Linked DNA regions of Homo sapiens: all the other regions are linked to region 1. Evidence: promoter capture Hi-C in human tissues and cell types (Jung and others, 2019). All regions are on one chromosome and are shown on one strand. The core of a region is centred on a gene start or on the middle of the fragment in contact, and the rest is flanking DNA. Distances in the headings are between cores, read along the strand shown.

Region 1 (4,569 bases), core at 727-3,226:
ACCTGTAATCCCAGCTACTTGGGAGGTTGAGGCAGAGAATTGCTTGAACCCGGGAGGCGGAGTTTACAGTGAGCCAAGATCGTGCCACTGCACTCCAGCCTGGGCAACAGAGCGAGACTCTGTCTCAAAAAAAAAAACATTAATTCATTAGTCCATTCATTCATTCATTCGTTCGCATGCCAGACACAGAGCCAGGTACAAAGAGACATCTTGACCCCAGGAATGGGAGCAATGTCAGATGCTGGGGACTGCCTCGGCCTCCACCAGCCACACTCCAAACCCACCCCTGAGCTCTTCTCCCAGGCTCCCCTCCATGTCCTGCTCCCCAAACCCGTGTCAGTTGCTCACCTTCCAGACATGCAGCAAGCTTATCTCGAGGCGTCCTCGCTGTCTCACAAGCTGGAAAAGACCCAGGTGTTTACCTTTGGGATTGGGGTATGGCCAGGATGAGCTGGAGTCAGGGTGGATGGGATGTTGGTGAGAAACAGAAAGATGGATGAACAGATGGGAGGGACCAAGGAAGGAGTGGGGAAGGGGTGGATGGGTGGATGGCTAGGTGCAGCAGAAGATTCTCTGGGTAGAATTCTCTCACTGGGGTCCCCAGGCCTCCCTTCCTGGGGCAAATCCTTCCCGGTGCTCACCTGTGTACTTGGCCCAGAACACATCCTGAAAAACAAGGGCTGGGAGTGAGGCTACGGCAGCTCCTGTTTTGTGTTGTTTTAGTAAATGTTATGTCTCCTCCTCACACTTTCCTTTACCCTGGTCACGCAGGGGGCAGGCTCTGGGGAGGTTTGTGGCAGAGTTTCCTACTTTTGTTTCCAAAAGGAGAAGAATATTTGAGGATAGGGGAGTTCCTCCAACACACACACCGAGACTGAAAGAGGCTGGGGGAGATGGGAGGAGAGGGGGCAGTGGGACCCTGGCAGAGCCCTACAGACAGGAAAGGCGACACAGAGCTCCAGGAACACTGAGTCTTGAGCCCGGGGGCTTGTGGTGGCCTCCCCAGAGTCCCACCCCTCAAGGGTGGTGTGGGAGTCTGCCGCTGAGGAGGCCATGTGGACACAGAGCTCCAGGGCAGGTGGATGTCTGAAGACTGTGGAGGCCTCCCCATGTCATGGAGCTGCACAGGGACACAGTCCAGGCACAGAGACCCCCAGGAAAGGCTGAGGCCGCTCCTCTTGCCAGCCCTGTGAGGAGGGGCTCAGAGTTGAAATGAGGCTGTGAGCAGCGAAGGGGCTGTGGCGTTCCTCGCTTGCTTCTCTGTGGAAGTGTCTAGAGTTGGGCCCGGTCTGAGGCCCCGGCACCGTCCGAGCAGCCCAGGCTCACCGTAGCCGTGGAGGACTCCAGAGCCTCGAAGGCCTCCTCGTAGCTGCACGTCTCCTCCACGCACTCTCGCTCCAGGTTGCCCTTGCGCACCTCCTCCAAGAAGGTGTTGGCTCGCCGGACCCGCTGGAGCAGCGACCGTGCTTGCTGAGGAGCCAGGAACACTGTAAGGCGGTGGGGGGGTCATGGGACAGCGGCCTCAGGAACAGGCAGTCTTGGCCATTCTGGGGGCATGAAGCAAGCCCACCCTCCCCTGCTGGCTTCTGAGAGAGGCTGTCTGGGCTGGTGGAAGTGCCTGGAAGGCTGCTAAATGTGGCCCCCTGTGCCCCTCCTACACTGCCCCTTGCCCCCAGCCTGCTCCCTATATTGGAAGAGAGAAGCAGCCATTCTCTTTCCAGCCCTGAGCTCCTGACTTCTTCCCTAAGCTGGCCGCCTGGGGCTGAGACCTACTTAGGGGCCAGCTCTGTGTGCTCTGTCCAGCCAGGAGACCCCAGCCCATGGGCCCACACCCCAGTCCTCCAGCCTGTTCCAGCCTGCAAGCACTCCCTTACCATGCTGGCTGTGCACAAGGCTACACAGGGCAGCCAGGGCCAGGCAGCCAGGCAGCTGCAAGCCTCGGACGTGCGCCATAGTGTGTCAGCTCCTGGGTCACTGAGGAATTGTCTGTCCTGACCCCTCTGGGTTAATGTTGAACTAACATGAAGAAATCAGCGGAGAGGGTGAGGTCAGAGGGTCAGGGCCGTGGGGACGGGTGGGTAGATAGTCCTCCTGTCCATCTCCACCATCTGGGAGGACAGGTCCTCCTGGGAGCAGGGATGGATGGTCTAGGAGGAGTCACAAAAAAGGTCACTGTCACCCCCATCTCCCACCCTCCCCCTCTGAGATTTAGCCCATTCTGGCCAGTGGGGCTATGAGACTTTCCTGGAGCTCCTTCGAATCCTAACATATAGCGGTGGTTGCTTGTCATCTCTGTGTGCCTCAGTTTCCTCATCTATACAATGGGAATAATACTTTGTTGTGAGGACTAAAGGAGATTAGGAATGGAATGTCCATGGAATATCGTAAGTTCTTAATCAGATCTGCACATATAGGCCAATGTGGGGGTTTGTATAATCATAATACACAGATATCAAAAATAGAGACAAAGATAAAAGGTGTGGCCTGATGGAAGTTGCCCCTCGCCATGGGATGCACCAGGGATAGGAACAGCCAACATTTGCCCCAGCTTCTCAGCCACTGGAGGAGGGGCCCATTTCTCCTCCTTCCTGTCCAGGGTGCCTGGAGGTGTGTTTGTGTGTGGCAGCTGCCTGGGAGGAGTCAGGTCCAGGGACTCTTGGGCCTTTAGTCTATCTTCTGTCACCTCCCAGGACCTGCGCCTGTCCCGGAACAGGGGCTACTGAAATCCCTGGGTCTCCACTGAGGGGCCCTCCTTCTCCCTGGCTGCCTGCCCCATGGCAGGCCTAGAGAGGCTTCTGGTCCTACCCTACCCTCCGCCCTACTCCTGTCCCTCCCCCATTTCCTGTTTGCAGTACCCAAGGCAAATATTAGTCTAAGTAGGACAGAGGGACAAAGAGCAGGAACACGGGGAGGCACAAGTTCTCGCCTCGCCTCACCTGTCCTTTGGGCCTGGCTGTTTGGGGTCTGGACCAGGTCATGTGTGGGAACAGGGAGTGTTGGCAGAAAAACTGGGGACCAGGACTCCCGCAAACACCTTAATTCCTGGGAGGCCCATTTCTTATATATTTTCATATATATATTTTTAGGCCAGGCATAGTGGCTCACACTTGTAATCCCAACACTTTGGGAGGCCGACATGGCAGGATCGCTTGAGGCCAGGAGTTTGAGACCAGCCTGGGCAACATAGCAAGACCCTCATCTCTACCAAAAAAAAATTAAAAATTAGCTGGGAATGGTGGTGCATGCCTGCAGTCTGAGCTACTGAGGAGGCTGAGGCAGGAGGATCACTTGAGCCCAGGAGTTCCAGGCTGCAGTGAGCTATGATTGCACCACTGTACTCCAGCCTGGGTAACAGAGTAAGATCCTGTTTCTTTCTTTCTTTCTTTCTTTCTTTTTTTTTTTTTTTTTTGAGACGGAGTCTCGCCCTGTCACCCAGGCTGGAGTGCAGTGGAACAATCTCGGCTCACTGCAATTTCCATCTCCCTGTTCAAGTGATTCTCCTGACTCAGTATCCCAAGTAGCTGGAATTACAGGCGTGTGCCACCACACCTGGCTAATTTTTGTATTTTTAGTAGAGATGGGGTTTCGCCACATTGACCAGGATGGTCTCGAACTCCTGACCTCAGGTGATCCGCCCACCTCCACCTCGGCCTCCCAAGTGCTGGGATTACAGGCGTGAGCCACCATGCCTGGCCTGAATGAGACCTGTTCCTAGAAAAATAAAATAAAATAAAATAAAATTGAATAAATAAAATAAAATTATAATATATATTTTGGGTTTTTGTTGTTTTGTTTTTGAGATGGAGGCTGGAGTGCAATAGCGTGAACTCGGCTCACTGCAACCTCTACCTCCTAGGTTCAAGCGATTCTCCTGCCTCAGCCTCCCGAATAGCTGGAACTACAGGCACCCGCCATCATGCCTGGCTAATTTTTGTATTTTTGTAGAGACAGAGTTTCACCATGTTGCCCAGGCTGGACGTGAACTCCTGACCTCAGGTGATCTGCCCACTTTAGCCTCCCAAAGTGGGGATTACAGGCGTGAACCACTGCTACCTACCTGTTGGGTTTTTTTGTTTGTTTTTGTTTTGTTTTGTTTTGTTTTTTTGAGATGGAGTCTCACTCTGTCACCCAGAAAGGAGTGCAGTGGCGTGATCTCAGCTCACTGCAACCTCGGCCTCCTGAGTACAAGTGATTCTCCTGCCTCAGCCTCCCAAGTAGCTCCCAAGTGCATGCTAGGGATTACAAGCATGCACTACCACGCCCAGCTAATTTTGTATTTTTAGTAGAGATGGGGTTTCACCATGTTGGTCAGGCTGGTCTCGAACTGCTGACCTCAGGTGATCCACCTGCCTCGGCCCCCCAAAGTGCTGGGATTACAGGTATGAGCCACTGCCCGGCCTCTTTGCAGACTTTTACTCACAGTTGCAGGCCTGTTCAGTATATGACATTCTTATACCCAGAAATGGCTATCTTAGCCTGGGCTGCTATAAAATTACTGTAGGCCAGGTGCAGTGGCTCACGCCTGTAATCCCAATACTTTGGGAGGCCGAGGCGGGCCGATCACAAGGT
Region 2 (4,742 bases), core at 1,888-4,387, 130 kb after region 1:
CCATCCTACCTCAGGGGAGTGGCTCCATGAGGAGAGTCCTACCAGAATTCAGTGATCAACAGTAAACACCATAATGAGTTCTTGAGTCTTAACATCAATATGAGGAACATCAGGGGTACAGCCCAGGATGATCTTCACTTCTGCTGGCCTTGTTTCTTTTTTACAGTTTTTCCTCTAGTGTGAGGAGATTCCCGCAAGGTTGATGGTTTCAACTCCTGATCTCTTGTGATCCACTCTTCAGTCTAAATAAACATTTCCATAAGAACATGCAGTAGTTTGCTGTCAAACTGAAGCTTAAATCCATATATATACATACATATTTGAAAAGAACAGTTCTCTAAAGGAAATTTATCTGTAAAGGTGCAACTCTGCCCATAGAATAAGCCACCCTTTCCATGGTCTCACAAAGCAGTCTAGACTCAGCGTTGCAAATATTTTCATTTTCAGATGATGATTTTAGATAAATCTTTGCCGAACTTTCAGGTGTTTTACTCAAAAGTCTCCAGCTTTTGAAAAAAGGAAAATGTCTAGAGCAGTGAAATTAGTTTTTTTTACTGCAATCAAGGTTTCAAAACAATGTAGTTGGCCGGGCGCAGTGGCTCAAGCCTGTAATCCCAGGACTTCGGGAAGCCGAGGTGGGTGGATCACGAGGTCAGGAGATCGAGACCATCCTGGCTAACACGGTGAAACCCCGTCTCTACTAAAAATACAAAAAAATTAGCCGGGCGTGGCCGGGCGCAGTGGCTCACCCCTGTAATCCCAGCACTTTGGGAGGCCGAGGCGGGCGGATCACAAGGTCAGAAGATCGAGACCACGGTGAAACCCCATCCCTACTAAAAATACAAAAAATTAACTGGGCGTGGTGGCGGACGCCTGTAGTCCCAGCTACTCGGGAGGCTGAGGCGGGAGAATGGCGTGAACCCGGGAGGCGGAGCTTGCAGTGAGTCGAGATCATGCCACTGCACTCCAGCCTGGGTGACAGAGCGAGAATCCTCAAAAAAAAAAAAAGCCGGGCGTGGTGGCGGGCGCATGTAGTCCCAGCTACTCGGGAGGCTGAGGCGGGAGAATGGCGTGAACACAGGAGCCAGAGGTTGCAGTGAGCCAAGATCGCTCCACTGCACTCCAGCCTGGGCGACAGAGCGAGAGTCCGTCTCAAAAAACAAAGAAACAAAAACAATGTAGTTATCTGAGTAAAATTTGAATGAGGGCTATAGCTATGCTCCACAAGCCTCTCCAAGAAGGAGAGTTTTCTTTCTTTCTTTTTTTTTTTTTTTGTAGTCCCGAGTAGCTGGGACTACAGGCTCCTGCCACCACGCTTGGCTAATTTTTTGTATTTTTAGTAGAGACGGGGTTCACCGCATTAGCCAGGATGGTCTCAATCTCCTGACCTCATGAACCGCCCGCCTCGGCCTCCCAAAGTGCTGGGATTACAGGCGTGAGCCACCGCGCCCGGCCTGGGCAGTATTTTCAAAGACTTAGAGGAGATTTTTGTAAAGTGCCAATACATTATTTAAAAAAGGCTAATACTGTAAGGATGTGCTCTTTGAGTTTAATTAAAGTCTTCAAAGGCTGGGACTTTTTTTTTTTTTTTTTTTTTTTTTTTTTTTTTTTTTTTTTTTTTTTTAGACGGAGTCTTGCTGTGTCGCCCAGGCTGGAGTGCAGTGGCACGATCTCTGCTCACTGCAACCTCCGCCTCCTGGGTTCAAGCGATTCTCCTGCCTCAGCCTCCCGAAAAGCTGGGATAACAGGCACCCGCCACCACGACCGGCTAATTTTTGTATTTTTAGTAGAGACGGGGTTTCACCATCTTGACCAGGCTGGTCTCAAACTCCTGACCTCGTGATCCACCTGCCTCGGCCTCCCAAAGTCCTGGGCTTACAGGCGTGAGCCACTGCGCCCGGCATTTAAAAAAAAAAAAATTTAAGATAGGGTCTTGCTCCATAGATCAGGCTGGAGTGCAATGGTGTGATCATGGCTCATCGCAGCCTCCACCTCCCGGGCTCAGGATATCCTTTCATCTTAGCTTCCCGAGTAGCTGGGCCTACAGGCGGGAGCCACCAGGCCCGGCTAACTTTTTGTATTTATTTATTTTTTTTTTATAGAGACTGGAGTCTCACCATGTTGCCCAGGCTGGTCTTGAACTCCAGGGCTCAAAGCAATCCACCAGCCTCGTCTCCTAAAGTGCTGGAATTATGGACGTGAGCCGCTGCGCCCGACAAACTGGGACTATCTTGTTTCCTTTTTACACCCTTCCTCTCTGAGTAGTGGGGAAGGGTGTAAACCTCCCTAGGAGCAGGTAAGGTAGACTATGATTGCTCACAATTGGTAACCATACTTGCAGTGATCTTTGTGATTTATTGAATCACATCTAGGATGTACATATTAATCCATATTTGTGCTGAGCATATTCATTTATCAACTAAGAGACTACAGAAAAAAGCCATTGTTGTGGTGATGAAAATGTCAACACTTTATCAGGTTCTGAACCCAAAGAGACTTTTGCTTATTATGTAAGAAGCACACCTGTGGCTCTAGGCCTTTGGAAGAAAATAAAAGAGAAAAGCAATCCGTGTGCTTTTTTTCCCCCTGCCTTAAGGTCAGGCTACATAATTCTGGGTTTTCCCAGCTTCTCTTGGTCATGCTTTGTGGGGACTAAACTGGAGCTTTTACGTAGACTGTTCATTTTGTTCCTCAGCTTGAATTCTCTCTCGTTTTCTGTCTCTATGATTTTTAATTCCCCTCACTGCTCTGTTAGGAAACTAAGGGTCAAATGAGGTTAACTAATTTGCTCAATTGGGATAAAGAGTGTTGGGAGTCCATAGAACAGTTGGGGGACTATAGTTACACAACAAGTGTTATTGCGCTATGATTTGATCTTCAACACATTCACGAGAAACTCCAGTTCTCTAAAGAACTTTAACAGCCGGCGACCCACAGAAAATGGCAGAAGTGCAGGCTCTTTTTTAACCCGTGGCTTATGATCTGGGTTTGTTTATTTACGCCTCAGACAGGAGCCGGACCTTGAGTAGGAGTTGAGCTGTTTTTCGGCGCTCGGCTGTGGTTCCTTGAACGATTGCTTGGGCGTTCCTCCTTTGATGTCTGGGGCGTTCTTGTATTCGGTGATCTTTTGCGCCGTCTTCTTGCTTGATGTCTCCTGAGCGGCGGCGGCGCCGGGTCGAGGGCTGAGTTGTCCGCGAGGCCCCGCGCTCAAGCCGCCTTCTCCTGCCGGTCGGTAGAACGGACCCCTTCCTTTATTCCTGTCTCCTCTTTCTTTTTCCCTGTGGCTCAGCCCGTTCGCTGGACTGCAAACCGAGCTCCCGTCTGCCTTGCAGGTAGGCCCAGGAGGAGCCTGGGAGGCCCAGCCCGGCATCCTTCCGCCGCGGGGTTGAGAAGACCTTGGCGCCGGCGGGTGGGCAGGCTGGCCGGCCGCCGTGACACTGCCAGAGGAGGGGCTACCGGACTGCGTTGAGGGGCGCGGCCGGAGGGGCAGCCCGGAACCGAGGGAGAAGCCGAAAGGAGGGAGAGTTGCTGGGGCTTCCCGGTGTGGTTCTTTAGGGAGGAGATGTTGGGTCTAGGGCACCCCCAGTGTGTGGCGAAAATGGCTTTCCAGGAACCGATAGAGCTTTGCGCACTTTGACCCTCCTTCCTTTCTCCTTTTCCCCCCACCCCGAAGTCTCCGGGTGTCATGCCTCAATTGCACTGGGGACCCCTACTGAGTCCAGCCTTTGAAGGGACCTTTGAGTAGGTGGAGGCTTATGGAACAAGGCCCTCTGGCTCTTCTGAGCGAAGTGTTATGTTCTCGCCTTTTTCTGGGTGGGTAAACTGAGGCTGATGTCTGGGACGTGACTTCCCCACATATCCCCAACAGATCATTAAATTCACTGTAAGTCACTTTTTGTCGTTTACCAATTCCCTTCCCCCCACTTACCAGTCAAGTTATGAAAACAGTGAGTTATTGTTTGATCGTCTGTGATCCCAATTTTCCTAGGAATATAGACTGTTAGGAATATAGATCCTGTCACAAGAGGCTTCAGAAGTAAAGGAACCATGTGGTTTCTTGGCTGTTTTGCTTTTCAAAGTCTGTATCATTTTAACTAGTGTAGCAATGACAGTTTCTTTTTGTTTCTTGATAACCTTGTTGTCTACTTTGTTTCCTGATAACCTTGTTGTCTACTTTGTTTCCTGATAACCTTGTTGTCTACATTGTTTCCTGGTTGATTTATCCTCCTTCTCCCCAGCCTCTTTGGAAATCTTATAACTATGGTGTTTGTGGTTAGAGGTTAGAGTCTAGTAGAGGATGGTCAAGACTTTGAAGGCAAACGCTTGTCCTGTGAGGGTCTGCTTTCTGGGGAGTATCCAATGGAAACCCAAGGAGTCTGTCTCTCTTTTTTCTTTTTTTTTTTTAAGACAGGCTAGCTCTGTCGCCCAAACTGGAGTGCAGTGGCGCGATCTTGGCTCACTGCAACCTCTGCCTCCCGGGTTCAAGCGATTCCCCTGCCTCAGACTCCCGAGTAGCTGGAAGTACCGGCGCGCGCCACCACACTCGGCTAATTTTTGTATTTGTAGTAAAGACGGGGTTTCATCATGTTGGCCAGGCTGGTCTTGAACTCCTGGCCTCAAGTGATTCGTCCACGTCGGCCTCTCAAAGTGCTGGAATTACAGGCATCCACCGCGCCCGCCCAGTTTTGTTGTATTTGATTAGTAGTTTGGTCACTGCACATACAAAAGCTAAAAAAGGCTGT
Region 3 (4,323 bases), core at 1,709-4,208, 82 kb after region 1:
GTAATCCCAGTACTTTGGGGGGCCAAGATGGGAGAATCACTTTAGTCCAAGAGTTTGAGACCAGCCTGGGCAACATGGTGAAACCCCATCTCTAGGAAAAAAAAATATAAAAATTAGCTGGGCATGGTAGTCCCAGCTACTCAGGAGGCTGAGACAGGAGGATTGCTTGAGCCTGGGAGGCAGAGACTGCAGTGAGCTGAGATCGTGCCACTACACTCCAACATGGGGGACAGAGCAAGACCCTGTCAAAAAAAAAAAAAAAAAAAATTGCATAAGCAGATCCTGAAGTACAGCAGAATAGCTGACACCAAACAGTTTAAAGGCCCCCCCACAGAGAAACCAAACCAGTGTAAGAATATAGCTTCTTCATCTCTCTGTGCCATGACTTTACCCTGCATACTTTGACCAATGATCTCCACACTTCAGCCCACTCTCAAACTCTTAAATTGAAACTCTACCCACAAACTCCCTGGGAGGCGGATTTGAGGGTTCCTCCTGTTTCCTGTTTTGGCAACCCTACAATTAAACCTCTTTTCTCTGCTGCAACCCAGTGTCTCCGCATACTCACTTGCTGCACGAAATGAACAATGGACCTGTTACAGTTACAGCTGGGCAATATATATATATATAAAGACAGAATTCTGACCCACAACCTGAAGCAACCAGCCCAAGAAGCCAACCTACTATCTACACTAATGAGTCAATGAAGTCAGACTATCTCTAGCAACTAGTCCAGGAAGCCAACAATAACCACTATGACAATTGGCCCAATTCACAATAGCCAAGATACAGAATCACCCTAAATGTCTATCAACGAAGATAAAGAAAATGTGGAAGCTGGGCATGGTGGCTCACGCCTATAATCCCAGCACTGTGGGAGGCCAAGGTAGGCGGATCATGAGGTCAGGAGTTCGAGACCAGCCCAGCCAACATAGTAAAACCCTGTCTCTACTAAAAATACAAAAAAGTAGCCAGACATGGTTGTGGCGCCTGCAGTCCCAGCTACTTGGGAGGCCGAGGCAGGAGAATCACTTGAACCCGGGAGGCAGAGGTTGCAGTGAGCCGAGATTGCACCACTACACTCCAGCCAGGGCAACAGAGCGAGACTCCTTCTCAAAAAAAAATAAATAAATAAATAAATAAAAATCAGCCGAGTGTGGTGGCACATGCCTGTAGTCCCAGCTACTTGGAAGGCTGAGGTGGGAGAATGGCTTGCACCTGGGAGGCGGAGGTTGCAGTGAGCCAATACCACAACATTGCACTCCAGCCTGGGTGACAGAGTGAGACTCTGTCTCAAAAAACAAACAAACAAAAAAAGAGGAATATATATATCATGGAAATTAGCCACAGAAAAAGAGTAAAATCCTGTCATTTGCAGCAACATGAATGAACCTGGAGAGCATTATGTTAGGTGAAATAAGCCAGGCATGGAAAGACAAATACTGCATGATCTCACTCGTGGAATCTAAGATGTTGTTATTAAAGTAGTAGAGAGTAGAATAGGAGTTACCAGAGGATGGGGAAGTAGGGTGTAGGTTGATGGTGAGAAATTGGTCAGCAGGTACAAGGCCACAGTTAGATAGGAGGAATAAGTTCCAGTGTTCTATATCATAGCAGAATGACTGGAGTTAACAATAATATATATTTCAAAATAGCAAGAGAGGTTTTTTTGTTTTGTTTTTTGAGACAGAGTCTCACTCTGTCACCCAGGCTGGAGTGCAATGGTGCGATCTTGGCTTACTGCAACTTCCGACTCCCGGGTTCAAGCGATTCTGGTGCCTCAGCCTCCCTGAGTAGCTGGGATTATAGGCATGCGCCACCTCGCCCAGCTGATTTTTGTATTTTTAGTAGAGACAGGGTTATGCCATGTTGGCCAGGCTGGTTTTGAACTCCTGGACTCAAGCAATTCACCTGCCTCAGCCTTCCAAAGTTCTGGGATTACAGACATGAGCCACCGTGCCCAGTCAAAAAAGAGGTTTTTAAATGTTCTCATCACAAAGAAACAATAAATGTTTAAGATGATGAATATGCTAATTATCCTGAATAGGTCACTACACAATTTAGACATGCATCAAAACACGAACCCCATAAATATGTATAATTATTATGTATCAATCATAAATTAAAAATGAAAACAAAAAACCATTGGCCCAAAAGAGCTAGGACTTAATACCCTACATTTTGGTCCCCACGTCCTCCAACTTAGGACCAACTGAAGAAAGCCAAATATGCACCTCCTAACCAATCACACAGGATGCCCTGCTTCTAGTCAGCCTGCCGCCAGCTGCCCTATGCCAGGAGCCTCCAATTAGGGAAAACTTGAAACCTTCCCTTTTTCCCCCACTATAAAGCTTTCCCACTCCTCTGTCCGCTTCTGAGTCTCTGCCAAATGCAAATGATAACAGCTGACTCTTTTGCTCTGAATAGCCTGCGCTTGTTCTCATCTGGGTGCTATTTCCATATGAAAAATAGTTTTGATGCACTTTGGGAAGCTGAGGCAGGCAGATCACTTGAGGTCAGGAATTTGCGACCATCCTGGCCAACATGGCAAAACCCTGTCTCTACCAAAAAAATACAAAAATTAGCCAGGAGTGGTGGTGTACACCTGTAATCCCAGCTGCTCGGGAGGCTTGGGCAAGAGAATCACTTGAACCCTGGAAAAACATTATTTTTTGAACATAAAAAAGTGCTTACCATCAAACGAAAGATTAATAAATTATTAAAATTCAGAGAAAAGAAAATACATTTTTGCTGATCTGCAAATCATGAAGATATTCTCCTGTATTTTCTTGTAGAAACATTTTGTTTTATTGCACCACTGCATCCCATCCTGGGAAACAGAGTGAGACTCCATCTCAAAATAGATCAATAAAAATAGCTGAGTTGTAGCTCTCAATAAACAGTATGTTGAAAGTATACAATTTAATAGGATTCAACACACTTATGTATGGTAAAACCATCACCAAAAACAAAATAGTGAACCCCTATAGTTCCCAAAAGTTTCCTCATGCCTCCCTTTAGCCACTCCTTAATACCCCTTATCCTTAGGAAACCTCTGATCCTTAATCTGCAGTTTGTAGAATTCTTTCTCAATGGCTGGGCGCAGTGGCTCACACCTGTAATCCCAGCACTTTGGGAGGCCAAGGCAGGCTAATTACAAGGTCAAGAGATCGAGACCATCCTAGCCAACATGGTGAAACCCCGTCTCTACTAAAAATACAAAAATTAGCTGAGGCGTGTTGGTGTGCGCCTGTAGTCCCCGCTACTCGGGAGGCTGAGGCAGGAGAATTAACACTCTAGCCTGGTGACAGAATGAGACTCCACCTCAAAAGAAAAAAAAAAACTGTATCAACTAAATCACATAGGCCCAGCGTGGCAGCTGACACCTGTAATCCCAGCTCTTTGGGAGGTTGAGGCAGGAGGATCGCTTGTGGCCCAAAGTTCAAGAACAATCTGAGCAACATAGTGAAACTCCATCTCTACCCCCAACAAAAAAAGGAAAAAAGATTAAATCATACAGTATATACTCTTTGCCTGGCTTTTTTTTTTTTTTTTTTTTTTTTGAGACGGAGTCTCGCCCTGTCCTCCAGGCTGGAGTGCAGTGGCATGATCTCGGCTCACTGCAAGCTCCGCTTCCTGGGTTCACGCCATTCTCCTGCCTCAGTCTCCTGAGTAGCTGGGACTACAGGTGCTTGCCACCATGCCCAGGTAATTTTTTTGTATTTTTAGTAGAGACGGGGTTTCACTGTGTTAGCCAGGATGGTCTCGATCTCCTGACCTCATGATCCACCCGCCTCTGCCTCCCAAAGTGCTGGGATTACAGGTGTGAGCTACTGCGCCTGGCCCTCCCAGGATAGGGATATCTAAACAAATTTATAGGGAGAGACAAGAAGTCAATGAAGGAGAAATAAAAGATGTGAGAGAGGAAATAATTATTGGAATACGATGCCACAGGATAGTCCACCGTGATCAAGAACAGGTTAATGGCCTAAAGCGATCCAAACTATAAATGACTTACCTACTGGAATCTATCATTTGTAGATCTGGCTGCATTTGAAACATATACCCACTTCAGACATTCCTAATTTTGGTTAAAAAGAACACTAACAACTGTGCCATTGTACTCCAGCTTGGGTGACAGAGCAAGGCCCTGTCTCACGAAGAAGAAAAACAAAGAAAGAAAGAAATGCGCTGCAGGATTATACTGCCCTTATCTTACACTAAAGGTAAGAATTGGATTATCACCATCAGATTATCTACCAATGCAATCATTATAACGGCACAATGGCTCCAATGACTTTTTGTACAACTGGTAGCATTGAA
Region 4 (4,298 bases), core at 1,474-3,973, 95 kb before region 1:
CCACCACACCTGAGTAATTTTGTATTTTTAGTAGAGATGAGGTTTCTCCATTTTGGTCAGGCTGGTCTTGAACTCCTGACCTCAGGTGATCCACCCGCCTCAGCCTCCCAAAGTGCTGGGATTACAGGCATGAGCCACCATACCCGACCAACCCTGTCTCTTTAAAAAAAAAAAAAAAAAAAAAAAATTGAAAGCAAGCATTCTGTAACCCTACTTTTGTAAAGTATATTTGTATGTCCATATACACACACACTTAGAGAAAGGTCTGGAAGGAGGGATATCAAAAAGTTGAAAGTAGTTTTCTCTGGGTGGTGGGATTTCAAGGGATCTTTAATTTTTTGTTTGAATTTTCTACATTTATAAACTGTTACTATGCCTGCTATGACATGTCTTAAAATTTTATGTTTAACGTTAAGTTTTTAAAATATTCTTGAACATAAATTTAAAAATTAAAGACTCATTTACTGTATTTCTAGCATTTGTAAAAGTACTAGTACACCCCCTTTCCGTGACCTTTTTCCAATTCTTACTACTTAAGTGGGATTTTTGTTCTTTATAATATGTTACAGAACCACAGGAGAAGTTGTGTCAGGTGTTGTAAGTAAGGTGTTCAATCAACCTAAAGCTAAAGCCAAGGAGCTGGGCATAGAGATCTGTCTTATGTACATAGAGATTGAGAAAGGAGAGGCTGTTCAAGAAGAGCTCCTGAAAGGCTTGGACAATAAGAATCCCAAGATCATAGTGGCCTGTATAGAGACACTGAGGAAAGCCTTAAGGTAAGACTTTGTTTTAGCTTTGTTAACTAGAGCAGCAGTCCCCAACCTTTTTGGCACCAGGGACCAGTTTCATGGAAGACAATTTTTCCATGGAAGAATTGTGTGTTGGGGGGATGGGGGGGTCGTTTTGAGATGAAACAGTTCCACCTCATAAGGAGCATGCACTCTAGATCCCTCACATGTGCAGTTCACAGTAGGGTTTGCACTCGTATGAGAACCTTAATGCCCTGCTGATCTGGCAGGAGGCAGAGCTCAGGGGGTAATTCTCGCTTGGTAGCTGTTCACCTCCTGTTGTGTGCCTGGTTCCTAACAGGCCACTGTACTGGCCACAGCCCAGGGGTTAGGGATCCCTGAACTAGAGTATCTCAATTGAGTTTGGATTCCGGGTTTAAACAGAAATGGAAACTGCAGAATTTGACTTGGCATGCCAAAACAAGCAAGAAAGTGACCTGAATAAGGAAAGTCATTCCCCAAGTGTGGCACTTCATGTTGACTAATTTTAGCCTTCAAGTGTGTTGTGTAGTTATTTTATCTGAATCCCTTTCTAATGAAGATGAATAGAGATTTCTGACCTGTTATCAGATTAAGAATTAGGCTTTTCAGTTGGGGGCAGTGGCTCATGCCTGTAATCCCAGCACTTTGGAAGGCTGAGTTAGGAGGATCACTTGGGGCCAGGAGTTTAAGACCAGCCTGGGCAAGATGGCAAGACCCCTGCCACTATAAAGAAGCTGAGGTGGGGAGGATCTCTTGAGTCTAGAAGTTCTAGGCTGCACTGAGCTGTGATTGTGCCACTGCAATTCAGCCTGGGTGAGAGAGCAAGACCCTGTCTCTTTAAAAAATAAATAAATATGGCCAGGCTCAGTGGCTCACTCCTGTAATGCTAGCACTTTGGGAGGCCAAGGCAGGCAGATCACAAGGTCAGGAGTTTGAGACCAGCCTGGCCAATGTGGTGAAACGTCTCTACCAAAAATACGAAAAAATTAGCTGGGCATGGTGGCGCATGCCTGTAATTCCAGCTACTCGGAAGGCTGAGGCAGGAGAATTGCTTGAACCTGGAAGGCAGAGGTTGCAGTGACCCAAGATCATGCCACTGCACTACAGCCTGGGTGACAAAGCAAGACTCCCTCTCAAAAATAAATAAATAAATACATTTTAAAAATTGGCCTTTTGGTGGAAAAGCACTGAAAAGAAAAGTACTGGCCTTTTGTTGGAAAACTACTCCTCAGGGTATTTAAGCAGCTCTTTTTCTCTTGCTATCTTAAGTATAGACTTTCGAAGTCTATACTTTGAGATGTTGGCTAAAGATAAAGTTTGTGGACTAAAGCTAACCTTTATTTAGGTGCCTTTTTAGTAAAGTAGAAGCAAATGCTATATGCCTTTAAAGAGACGCACAGTGAAAGCAAATAGAAAAGTAACTTTTGCTCTTATGTAGTAAGTTCTTTTCAACCCTAGACTTTCTTGTTTGGCCATGAAATTTTTCATGAATAGGATCTCTTTCAGGAACAAGTGGATGTAATTTGCTATGGAAATCTGAATTAGACAGATCACTAGTTTGTTCAGACTTGGCAGTTCTTCTAATCTGGTATCCTGTCCCCAAGTACTGTCTATATCAGATATTTTAGAAAGCAGCTGTAGTAAAATCCTCACGGAATGAAGATCATCCATCTCACCTCTCATGATTTTGTGTATGACCTACATCTTGGAGAAAAATGTTTCCTTTGGTGTTTATCTTCTGTGAAAGTATAAAAACTCTTGTATTTTGTTGAATGATCTTTGATTTATAGGTCTTTAATATTGTTTTTTGCTTTGCTCATAATGTACTTTTATAAAATTTGACTTGCTTAGATTCTTACGTGAATGAAGTTTCCTTGTTTCTAGCCTATTACAATATAGTAAGCAGATGTTTTTCTGAGTAGTAAACAGTATGCTCATTCTATTATCTTAGAAATTTAGTGACTCATCTTAGTTATCAGAACTATGCTTATATCAATAAATCTTTTGTGTCCTTAGTGATGTCTAAATTTTAAAAAATACTGTAATCTTTTTTTTTTTTTTTTTTTTTTTTTGAGACAAGGTCTCGCTCTGTCACCCAGACTGGAGTGCAGTGGTACGATCTCAGCTCACTGCAACCTCCGCCCCTGGGTTCAAGCGATTCTCATGCCTCCAGCCTCCTGAGTAGCTGGGACTACAGGTGAGCACCACCACACCCAGCTAATTTTTTTTTTCTTTAATAGAGATGGGTTTCTCCATGTTGGTCAGGCTGGTCTGGAACTCCTGGCATCAAGTGATCCCACCTCGGCCTCCCAAAGTGCTGGGATTACAGACATAAGCAACCGCACCTGGCCTATAATCTTCTACCTTTAAATTACAAGTTTCTAGTCTGGAGTGCTGTGTACTCTGGTTATTTCATTTTTTAGCTAAACTGGGAGAATAAGGGTAGGAAAATAACAAGTTACGTATATCTCATGTTTTCTTCATAGATGTTGTTATGTAGTCCCATCCCTGTGTGGTTCTTTATTTGTCCTAAAGCATTTCAGAGTCTATAGTTTAACTAGGTAGCTCTCTGGGACCCTCAAGAACCTTGAGGCCAAACTGCTTGATCCTGGGTTCCAGAGCTTGCTAAAGCTTTGTTAGTGAGAGCTTCAGGTGACCAGAAACATTTGTGGTACCTAAAACAGGTTTCTAGTACCCTTTTGTGTTTTCTATAGTAATACGTTTAGTATCAAAATTAGGTTTTATTTTATTAAGGTGTCTATTTTCCATGTGGACTTGCTCCATCTTTTTTTTCTTACAGAAGGAGGCCAGGATAGAGAAAAAAGATTCAGATGAAACAGTAATAATATATAGGAAGATTTAAGAAATCTCAAATGTTAGGTTCTTCAGGCACCATGTTAAATATCCCTAAAACAAAATGGTTTATTGCCACTATAATTTCTTATTTTTTGTTTAATCTTAAAGGTCAGCTGAGCCAAGTTAAAATGTAATTTTTTTAATAATATAAAAGCATTTTAAAAAATCTTAGAGATTATGTAGGTTATTCTCATGATATTTGTACTTAAACTATATCACATAGCCAGGTATCTTATTAAAAATTCTTTTTTTATTGTGCCTGTAGTCCCACCAACTCAGGAGGCAGGAAGATTACTTGAGCCCAGGGGGTGAGGCTGCTGTGAGCTATGATTGTGTCACTGTACTCCAGCCTGGTTAACAGAGTGAGACACTATCTCAAAAATAATAATAATAATTAAGGCCAGGAGCAGTGGCTCATGCCTGTATTGTCCCAGCACTTTGGGTTGGGAGGCTGAGGCAGGCAGATTGCCTGAGCCCAGGAGTTCAAGACCAGCCTGGGCAACAAGGAGAAACCCCGTCTCTACAAAAAATACAAAAAAAAAATTAGCCGGGCATGGTGGTGCCCCTCTGTAGTCTCAGCTGCTTGGGGGACTGAGTCTGGAGAATAGCTTGAGCAGGGAAGGTCGAGGCTGCAGTGAGCTGTGATCATACCACTGCATTCCAGCCTGGATG
Region 5 (4,751 bases), core at 1,701-4,200, 66 kb before region 1:
TTTCAGGAGTGGCAGAGGCAGAAGAAAATTCATGCATAAGTGGATCTTCGCAGTTCAAACCCATGTTGTTCAAGGGTCAACTGTATAACTTTATATAATTAGGAATTTATATGTGTATAAATATGTAAATATGTATACATCCATATATAATTTGTATAATTTAGATATATACATTTTTTTCTTCTCATTTTTAGGCCTAGAAGCCTCCTTATCCAATCTTTACATATTCAAGGGAGAAATAAACAGTGAGATAGCTTTTTTATTTGATAGGATAAAAAATAAGTGCAGTCCTTAAATTGCCAGTGAAAATTTACCACATAATCAATTGTATAGCCCCATTAACTGATAATAGAGCTGAAATTTAGCAGTACCAAGTTATTAGTCTAAGGGGTGGGTATAGAGGGAAGTATAGGAAAGTGCTGCAGGAAGGAAAATGAGAAAAAGTTTCCTTCTCTTTTTCTAGATGTACATACAATAGACCTCATGCTAAACAAACTTGAAATGTATCAGGTTTATTATTGGCATCCTGCTAGTCTCTTTTTGGTTTCTCTTCTGCTGCCACCTCTTGTTTTCTGTCTAGGATGTTTAGCTCCCTCATACACTGTGTGTCCCTTACATTGTGTTACATAGCACCTTATTCGTATAGGCCAGCTCCACAAAGGCTAAATATTCTAAAAGATTCTTGAGGTGCCCTCTTCCTCTCACACCACCTTCTTTTTTTTTGAGAAAGGGCTTCACTCAGTTGTCCAGGCTGGAGTGTGGTGGTGCAAACGTGGCTCACTGCAGTGTTGACACCTTAGGCTCCAGAGATCCTCCCACTTCAGCCTCCCAAGTAGTCGGGACCACAGGCGTGCATCACTACACCTTGCTAATTTTTTTCTCAAATTCATAGACAGTATGAAGTGTAATCTCATTGTGATTTTGATTTTCAGCCACCAAAGACTCTCTCCTTGGTTAACTTAATGACCAGCTAATGACTGGAGAGATTTTCTTAAATGCCTTGAACCAATGTGATCTGTCTCCCACCCTCTGCCAAGGGGGAAGGTGTGTATGTTTGTGTGTGTGTGCGCGCTGGGTCATGCCAGAGATACTCAGGCACTTTACAGCTTTACCCTGGAATTCACTTTTTAAGCAAGGTCTTGAAGGTCAGTCAGAGATTAGGGCCCTTTTCAGTCTTTCCTGGGCATACACATAACCTTGAATATTCGCATGACCTTCTAGATTCTCAAAGTCCTCTGTGGATATCTTATTCCCTAGGTCCTTTTATGTTTTTGACCAAGCTGGGTTCCCCCAGCTGGTATTATGGACTTACACAGTTCTGATGTTAGATGTTAAACAGTTGCCACTCATTGTTTTCGTTGTTTTCAACAAAATCCCTGGGGATAGGGCTTTTCCCACTGAGCTAGCCAGAGTCCAGTCAAATAACAGGACTTTCAAATGGAGCTTTTCTAGGAAGCTGCCAGACAAGACAGTACTTTGGGTCAAAACTTTTTGAGGAGGTCCAAACCTGAGCTGTCCCCCCACCTGCCAGTGGCTGCACAGCTCTAGGTTTTCATAGTTGCCATGGTTACAAGACTTCAGGTTTTGAAGGCTACTGTGGAGCTGGAAGAAAAGGGGAGCAAGGCAAGTTAAATCACCAGAAACCTCACTGTCCTTACTAAAATTCAGCATCCTTTCTTTAAATGGTTCTTGTATGTTACAAGCCTTATTTAATTTTCAGAGTTGTGAGATAAGTTGATTTGGATAGTTTTTGCCAGTGTTCTTTGTTGCTTTTGAGGAAGATCAGTTTTTCAGAGGTATTGACTCCACAATTGCAGAAGTCCCACCCAAGATAATTACATTTCTTTGGTTTGTTTTTTGGTTTGGGAATTTTTTTTTTAATTTTTTAAATTTTTATTTTTTCACATGCCTGCTATGTCAAATTTTGGGGGTTTGAGACAAAGTCTCACTCTCTTGCCCAGGCTAGATAGTGCAGTGGTGTCAACATGTCTCTCTGCAGCTTCAGCCTCCTGGGTTCAAGTGATCCTCCCACCTCAGCCTCCCAAGTAGCTGGGACTACAGGCGAGGGCCACCATACCCAACTAATTTTTGTACTTGTTGTAGAGCTGGGGTCCCTCCATATTGACCAGGCTGGTCTTGAACTCCTGGGCTCAAGCATTCCCCTCGACTCAACCTACCAAAGTGCTGGGATTACAGGCATGAGCCAGGCGATAATTGCATTTTAAAAGAGGATGTTTGTGTGGCTGGGCACAGTGGCTCACGCCTGTAATCCCAGCACTTGGAGAGGCTGAGGTGAGATCCCACTTGAGATCCACTTGAGGTCAGGAGATCGAGACCAGCCCGGCCAACATGGTGAAACCTCATCTCTACTAAAAATACAAAAATGAGCCAAGCGTGGTGGCGGGCGCCTGTAAGTAATCCCAGCTACTTGCGAGGCTGAGGCATGAGAATCGCTTGAACCCAGGAGGCAGAGGTTGCAGTAAGCTGATATCTCACCACTGCACTCCAGCCTGGGTGACAGAACAAGATTCTGTCAAATAAATACATAAATAAATGGGAGTATTTGTCACCTAAATTAATCTGTATAATAGGATTTCTAGTGGCGTAACAAAAAAAGTTAAAATATTCACACAGTACAAAGAAAAATATTTATGAGCAAAGGGGTCCTTAATCCCATAGGTCTGCCATCACAATAATATCTTTAAATTATTTTCCACAGATCTTTTTATTCTTATACTTAAAAGCCAACAAGTTCTCTAAAATCTCTGAAGTTCTGTGTTGCATGTGTGTATAAGAGGGTTGTAGTGTTTTTGTAGGCAGCCCTAGTAGTAATTCTCAGTTATGCAGTCAGTATAGTAATTTATTGTGTATTTTAGGGTGTGTATTCAGTACTAAATGCAAATAATCATAAGAGGAGGAAAATTTAAAAATCAGATTTTTCAATTAATAAACTTTCTGTGCAATATTACTTGTTAGTATTTTGGAACACTGAGTAGCTTTTTTTCCCTCTCTTCACTGTCAGTTAAGTAATTGGTAACAATTAAAGGATACAAATTATTTTGCATATTTGTTTAAAATCCTGATTTTACTTTAGTTGTGTTTCCAGCTGTCCCTAACCATGTCATATCTGTTACATGCTGTTAATACAAGTAAATAAATAAATGTCCTTGGCTTGCTCTTAGCTTTATGATACTGATCCTTGTTCAGGTGATGCAAATGAAGCTTCATATAGTTGCTTTGATTGCCCAGAAGGGAAATTTTTCCAAAACGTCAGCTCAGGTTGTATTAGATGGCCTTGTGGACAAGATTGGAGATGTGAAATGTGGGAACAATGCAAAAGAAGCTATGACAGCAATAGCCGAAGCCTGTATGTTACCATGGACTGCTGAACAGGTTAGTGACACAGAAGTCTTATTCCTCTAGTTTTCCCAATTTTTTCCCCCAAACTTTAAGCTTACTAATTAAACATTAGTTTTTATCTTCTCAAGTAAAATCTTTTTTGATACTGCATTTTTTTTGAGATGGAGTTTCACTCTGTCGCCCAGGCTGGAATGCAATGGTGCAATCTCGGCTCACTGCAACCCTCCCGGGTTCAAGTGATTCTCCTGCTTCAGCCTCCCGCATAGCTGGGATTACAGGCACCTGCCACCACGCCTGCCTAATTTTTGAATTTTAATAGAGACAGGATTTCGCCACGTTGGCCAGGCTTGTCTCGAACTCCTGACCTCAGGTGATCTGCCTGCCTCGGCCTCCCAAAGTGCTGGGATTACAGGTGTGAGCCACCATGCCCGGCCCTTTGATACTGCATTTTTATTTTTACCTTAAAAAATACTCTATTGCCTAGTGATGAAAATTCATCTTAGTCAAAAATATTCGGTCAGACACAGAGGCTCACACCTGCAATCCCAGCACTTTGGGAGGCCGAGGCAGGAGGATGACTTGAGGCCAGGAGTTTGAGAGCAGCCTGGCCAACATGGTGAAATCCCGTCTCTACCAAAAATACAAAAATTAGCCAGGCGTGGTGGTGCACACCTGTAATGCCAGCTACTAGGGAGGCTGAGGCAGGAGAATCACTTGAACCTGGGAGACAGACGTGGCAGTGAGCCGAGATCACGCCACTGTACTCCAGCCTGGGCAACAGAGTGAGACTGTCTCAAAACAAATAAACAAAAAATTCTATAGAAGGTGAAAGCCCACGAGCTTGAGGCTGCAATGATTGATGATTGTGCCACTGTACTCCTGGGTGACAGAGCAAGACCCTGTCTCTAAAAAAAAAAAAAAAACATTATAATGCAGAGTAATTGCTGCAAAGCTATAAATAGTCCAGAATGCCTTTAGTCCTACTATCATTTCACCTCATTTTCTTGTGTAGGTTCACTCTTGTTCCTAAGGCATTCTTGCAGTTGTTTTAGCGTCAGAAAACTAGTTTAATGCACATCTGCCTTAATGTCATGCTGTATTTCTATAAGAAATACGAGATAAAACACAGATCTGCTGTTTTTCCCTTTTCAGGTTGTGTCAATGGCTTTCTCACAAAAGAATCCCAAAAATCAGTCAGAAACTCTGAATTGGCTATCAAATGCCATAAAAGAATTTGGTTTTTCTGGGTAAGTCAGAACGAAATCAAGTGGAAAATAGTTAAATGTTCTGTCAGTCTCTAAGTCGTGCTGTTTATAATAATAGCTATTGCTGTTTATTTCTGAAGAGTGAGAGCTGGATTGTCTCATTTATATAAAAGAAAATTACCTTTG

Evidence for each region. The method cuts DNA at HindIII sites, captures the fragments that hold promoters and counts their contacts. A contact is called where the count stands out against the background at its distance.
Region 2: the fragment with the promoter of AMBRA1 here is called in contact with the fragment with the promoter of F2 in region 1 in 1 of the 25 tissues and cell types used here (spleen).
Region 3: a fragment that was not itself captured here is called in contact with the fragment with the promoter of F2 in region 1 in 2 of the 25 tissues and cell types used here (small bowel and thymus).
Region 4: a fragment that was not itself captured here is called in contact with the fragment with the promoter of F2 in region 1 in 3 of the 25 tissues and cell types used here (ovary, stomach and thymus).
Region 5: a contact is called between a fragment that was not itself captured here and the fragment with the promoter of F2 in region 1, in 9 of the 25 tissues and cell types used here (H1 embryonic stem cells, IMR-90 fibroblasts, aorta and 6 more).

What each region holds. Positions count from the first base shown.
Region 1 is chr11:46,716,620-46,721,188 of GRCh38, reverse strand. F2 (coagulation factor II, thrombin) reads right to left here and starts at 1,976. Exons shown (of 14, transcript NM_000506.5): 1 at 1,875-1,976; 2 at 1,327-1,487; 3 at 642-666; 4 at 349-399. The coding sequence starts at 1,953. The HindIII fragment of the contact is 9,646 bases long and covers 1-4,569 here.
Region 2 is chr11:46,592,418-46,597,159 of GRCh38, reverse strand. It overlaps AMBRA1 (autophagy and beclin 1 regulator 1), which reads left to right and starts at 3,137. Exons shown (of 18, transcript NM_001387011.1): 1 at 3,137-3,332. RefSeq lists enhancers at 2,953-3,382, 2,885-3,385. The HindIII fragment of the contact is 25,136 bases long and covers 1-4,742 here.
Region 3 is chr11:46,635,798-46,640,120 of GRCh38, reverse strand. All of the region lies in intron 2 of ATG13 (autophagy related 13), which reads right to left. Among named protein-coding and RNA genes, the nearest start is that of ATG13, 20 kb to the right of the region's middle. The HindIII fragment of the contact is 9,077 bases long and covers 1-4,323 here.
Region 4 is chr11:46,812,676-46,816,973 of GRCh38, reverse strand. It overlaps CKAP5 (cytoskeleton associated protein 5), which reads left to right. Exons shown (of 44, transcript NM_001008938.4): 4 at 570-776. Among named protein-coding and RNA genes, the nearest start is that of CKAP5, 31 kb to the left of the region's middle. The HindIII fragment of the contact is 3,118 bases long and covers 1,165-4,282 here.
Region 5 is chr11:46,783,130-46,787,880 of GRCh38, reverse strand. It overlaps CKAP5 (cytoskeleton associated protein 5), which reads left to right. Exons shown (of 44, transcript NM_001008938.4): 17 at 3,208-3,393; 18 at 4,513-4,607. Among named protein-coding and RNA genes, the nearest start is that of SNORD67, 23 kb to the right of the region's middle. The HindIII fragment of the contact is 4,962 bases long and covers 470-4,751 here.